Linked DNA regions of Homo sapiens: region 1 is linked to region 2. Evidence: promoter capture Hi-C in human tissues and cell types (Jung and others, 2019). All regions are on one chromosome and are shown on one strand. Each heading gives the region's core, a stretch centred on a gene start or on the middle of the fragment in contact. The rest is flanking DNA. Distances are from core to core; before and after follow the strand shown.

Evidence for each region. The method cuts DNA at HindIII sites, captures the fragments that hold promoters and counts their contacts. A contact is called where the count stands out against the background at its distance.
Region 1: a contact is called between a fragment that was not itself captured here and the fragment with the promoter of CD200R1 in region 2, in 2 of the 25 tissues and cell types used here (lymphoblastoid cells and mesenchymal stem cells).

The regions. Positions count from the first base shown.
Region 1 is chr3:112,907,879-112,910,578 of GRCh38, reverse strand. No RefSeq gene overlaps it. Among named protein-coding and RNA genes, the nearest start is that of CD200R1L, 62 kb to the right of the region's middle. The HindIII fragment of the contact is 5,502 bases long and covers 1-2,700 here.
Region 2 is chr3:112,973,689-112,976,388 of GRCh38, reverse strand. CD200R1 (CD200 receptor 1) reads left to right here and starts at 1,286. Exons shown (of 8, transcript NM_138806.4): 1 at 1,286-1,598. The coding sequence starts at 1,532. The HindIII fragment of the contact is 6,650 bases long and covers 1-2,700 here.

The DNA.
Region 1 (2,700 bases), core at 165-2,664, 66 kb after region 2:
TTTATATCCCCTTTTGATTTTTTTTTGACCCACTTGTTTGAAAATGCATTATTTAATTTCCACATATTTATGAATTTTCATCAACATACAAAAATCAGTTGCATTTCTATATACTAATAAACTATCTGTAAAGGAAATGAGGAAAACAATCCTATTTACATTAGCATCAAAAAATACTTGTGAATAAGCTTAACTAAGCAAGTGAAATACTTGTTCACTGAAAATTACAAAACATTGATGAAAGAAATTAATGAAGACACAAACAAATGGAAAGACATTCTGTGTTCATGGATTGGAAGGCTTAATATTGTTACAATGTTTATACTACCTGTTATGGTTTTCATGTTTGTGTTCCCTCCAAAATTCTTGTTGAAACTTAATGCTCAATGCAACAGCATTAAGAGGGGGGCCCCTCAGAAGTGATTAAGCTATAAAGGCTTCACCCTCATGAATGAACTACTGACTTAATAAAGAGGCAGACAGGGACCCCCTTTGTCCCTTCTGTCATGTGAAGACACAACATACTTACTCTGCAGAGGATTTAGCAAGAAGGCATCGTCTTTGAAGCAAATAGTAGCACTCATAAGACACTGAGTCTACTGGTGCCTTGATCTTGAAGTTCTCAGCCTTCAGAGCTGTGAGAAATAAATTTCTTTTGTTTGCAAATTACTCAGTCTGTGGTATTTTGTCATAGCAGCAAAATAGGCTAAGACACTACAAAGATCTACAGATTCAATTCAATTCTTATCAAAATTCCATGACATTTTTACAGAAATAGAAAATCAATTATAAAATTCATATGAAACCATAAAAGACCTTAAACAGCCAAGAATAAACTTGGAGGCATTACACTTCCTTATATCAAAATATACTACCAGGCTACAGTAATTAAAACAGTATGCTACTGGCATAAAGACATCTATAGACCAGCATAACAGAATAGAGATCCCAGAAATAAATTCATGCATATATAGTCAACTGATCTTCAACTAGGATTCCAAAAATACACAATGGGGACAGAACAGTCTCTTTGACAATTGATATTGGGGAAACTGAATAACCCTAGGCAAAAGAATAAAATTGGGCCCTATCTTATGGCCTACACAAAAATCAACTCAAAATAGAGGGTGGGCAAGAAATAGAGGATAGAATTTCTTTGTTATTTCACTAAAAATCCCAAATTCACCTTCAAATGTGTTGAGGAATTATCTATCTGGAGACAAGAATCTGATCCTGGTGATAACTCTGTAGTATAGAAAGTTAACAAATGTGCACAATTATATCCATCTTTTTCATACAAAGTTATCACTAACCATTCTTTTTGTCTAGCCAAACTGAAACCAGTATGAACCACTGGAAGTGGGTGGGGAGAACGCACAGGAAAATCCAAGGGCAGGATTATTGTGTGGTCAGGAAGATGTAAGGAGAATTTATGGGCAGAAACTTCAGCCTACTGGTCAGCACTCTTTATCTTTACCTTTGCAACCCATGTAGCAACCCTGAGTTTGCAGAAGGAAAGAGCATATCCTAAATTGCTTTAGCCAAAAAAAACAAACTGAACAGAGATGAAAAGAGATATTAAGTAAATATTATGAAGTAGAAGAGGCTAATACAATAATTTAGGTGAAGAATTATTTGTATTATGATCTTTTTGAGCATGTTACTTTTAAATACTTTCTGCCTCAGTGATTTCTATGTTAAAGTGCATATCCCTGGAAGGAGAGATTGTGTGTAACTCCTCTCATAAGCCACACAACAAAATACCAAAAAATATACATAGACACACATACAAAATGCAGTAGAAGATAAGGAAAATTACTTATGAAAAGGTCTTTCTTTCTATGCTGGTTATTCTTCTACCGTATCATTAATTGACTTAGGATAAGTTTCTTAACCTTTTCGAATCTCTACTTCCTTATCTATAAAAATAAATATAACTATACATGCCTCATAAGAATCATTCTGACAGTATCTGGGACATAGCTCAATCAATTACAATTGGATCTGAATCCTGGGTCAAATATACATGCTTCTCTTGAAATAAGTAAATGTATAAAAGCACAAACCAGAAAATTCAGTCATTATCACCTCAACTGTGCAAACAGGAAATGCTTCTATTTAAGTTGCTCATGAGCCAAAAATACAACCATCTAAGAGAGCAGGGGATTTCTCACCAGTGCTAATGGAGCAGAGCAAGAGAAGTAAAATACCATAACTAGGCCTATTATACAGTGGAAGAAAACATAGAGGCAAAGATAAGAAAAAAAAAATAGAAATAACTCCCTTTGGAAGATGGCTTCAGCTTTTGGGATACTGTTCACATTTTTTTTCATAGCTGGTGAGTCTGTTGGCCAAGTTGCGGGGATGCTGAGGGGTATTGGGCGAAGTAGAGAGGAAACCATAATTAGAAAAATACATTAGAATATTTTTCCACTAGAGCTTTTCCACTAGTCCTTTAAAATGCTCAGTTTAAAATAGCTCAAAGAGTGAAAATGCTACTTTATTTTAATCACTATGTTTTAAAAAAGAAAGATAATGTCTTAATTACTTATATTTCTGCCAAAATTATCTTTGAAAAAACATTTCTTAATAAAAAAATAAAAAAATGCCACAGGATTTTAAATAAAAATGGAGATTTCTAGTTTGACATGGTGAATTGAATAGATGTATCGTGTCTATTCTCTCCTGAATGGCTATTAA
Region 2 (2,700 bases), core at 37-2,536:
CCCTTAAGTGTTCCATGCCCTCAAGGATCTGGTTTCACTGTCTTCATCAAATTAATTAACTGGAAAAAAAAGCTTGAGAAGGGGAAGGGGGGAAATATTTATAATGTTTGGCAAGAAGGAAGATGAAACTGCTAACTGAGAAAAAAAATGCATGCTGTTTAATCTTTTTCCTGTTTGCAATGTTTTCTTCCCCTTCCTGTACAGTTTTGCCTTGGGGCAGAAAATTCTCAGCACATAGAAGATTTTTCCCTCTCTCAGACATAACTTAAAAGCATAGTAACATAGTAACTAGCAACAGTAAGGAAGAGGTTTTTTTGTTGTTGTTGTTGTTTTTTTTTTTTGGTTAGGGGGAGTCTGAATTCCAGATGTGTGGCAACTAAGAGATGGGTGATTATTTGTAATTTGGTTAAAATGATCAGTCTAATTTTCCAAAGGTGAAACTGAATGGCAATAAGTACTGAGTTCTGATAAACAGAATGCCCTCACCCCCAACAAGGTAGATACCTATGTCCGAATTACCGAAACCTGTGAATGTTACCTTGTGTGGCAAAAAGGACTTTGCAGATGTGATTAAATTAAGATCTTGAAATTAGATCATGTTGGATTATTTGGGTGGACCAAAAATAATCACAAGGTCTTTATAAAAGGGAGGCATAAGGGTCACAGTCAGAGAAGATGTGACAGTGGACCAGAGGTCCGAATGATGTAGCTGCAAGCCAAGAAATGCAGGCATTCTCAAATCGCTGGAAAAGGCAGGGAGCAAATTCTGCCCGAGCCTCCAGATGGAGTGCAGCCCTTCCAACACCTTGATTTTAGTCCCCTAAGATCCATTTCAGACTTCTGATCACCAGAACTGTAAGATAATAAATGTTGTGTTGTGTTAAGCCACTGAGTTTGTGGTAATTTCTTACAGTAGCAATAGGAAACTAATACACATATGATGTTTACAGGGTTGTGTGTTGACTCCCATTATAGACAGGAATTTCACACAATAATTTTCAAGAAAACATATTGTATTCCAGACTCAAATACTAAGGCCGTAAAGCTCTTCAACCTGGAGAAAGCCTCTAAAAGTCATCATAATTGGGAAATTTACAAGGATGGGCCAAAGTAGATCAATATTCTGTTTTACTTTTTGGTGCAAGTTTAGACAAATCTGTTTATCTTGGACACGTTCAATGCCTTACTGTAAAGTTTGTCTGTGTACAGCAGAAGTGAGAGGAGAACCAATGAGCTGAGAGATAATTCAATCAATCTGCTTCCTCCGTCTTTGCTTCAGGGCTTCATACAGGAAATCTATTGCTGTGTCAAGTTCCAGAGAAAAGCTTCTGTTCGTCCAAGTTACTAACCAGGCTAAACCACATAGACGTGAAGGAAGGGGCTAGAAGGAAGGGAGTGCCCCACTGTTGATGGGGTAAGAGGATCCTGTACTGAGAAGTTGACCAGAGAGGGTCTCACCATGCGCACAGTTCCTTCTGTACCTGTGTGGAGGAAAAGTACTGAGTGAAGGGCAGAAAAAGAGAAAACAGAAATGCTCTGCCCTTGGAGAACTGCTAACCTAGGGCTACTGTTGATTTTGACTATCTTCTTAGTGGCCGGTAAGTTTGAATTCTCTTTGGGAGAACAGTGAGAAACCTGGTCTCAGCTCTTCCTGAGTTTATTTTTTGTCTTTCTTCTGGGGCAATACAAATCAATTGCAATAATAAATATAGGGGGTTGCTAAATATGGGTTACTCCCATATCTAGTTTACTTTATTATCCTTTTTTCCGGTGTCTTGCTTGTTGTACTTTGTATCCTACTACAATATACAGATCTCTATAATTTGTCTTACTGTCCATTTCCTTATTTCCTCCTGTTTTTTGAACAAGGCAGGATAAATCAAATACATACTAGCAGCAATCAAAGTCAGTTAGGTTCTCTTTATCTTATTCTCTTCCCCAACCCCCTTTTTTGAGACAGGGTCTTGCTCTGTTGCCCAGGCTGGAGTGCAGTGGTGCAATCGTAGCTCACTGCAGCCTGTAACTCCAGGTCTCAAGCAGTCCTCCCACTCAGCCTCCTGAGTGTCTAGGACTACAGATATGCGCCACTATGCTTGGCTAATTTTTAAAATTTTTGGTAGAGATAGAGTCTTGCTATATTGTCCATGCTGGTCTTGAGCTCCTGTCTTCAAGCAATTCTCCCACCTCAGACTCCCAAAGCATTGGGATTACAGGCATGAGCCACTGCACCCAGCCTCTTCTCTCTTAATTTTTTTTTTTAAGATAAGAACGCTAACTCATTTAGGTCCACATTGCCAGTGGCATAGATTAGGACAGTTTATTGCTTTCTGTCACTTTCGATGATTAGGCACTTCAAAAATATAATATGCCTACAGTTACAGTGGTGCGTCTGTGATGTATGTCTGTATTTATCTTCAAGATGTGTGGGCTGTAAGAGACACTACGAGTTAGAGAACAGACTCTTCAACATCTAGGTTCCTATAGAAGTTATAGAGAACTTGGGCCACTGTGGGGGTGTCCTGGTTTCACTGTAGAAGGTTGGTAGGAGTTGGTGTGGGAGGGAGTTTTCAGGTTTCACTTTTGGTAGACAGAGCAGCTGCAAGGGAAGAGTGTAGTTGGTTTTAAATGTTATAATTTGATAATTGAAAGAAGAAAAGGTATTTTTCCTCATTTCTGAATGACTTTAAAATGCTGCTTATC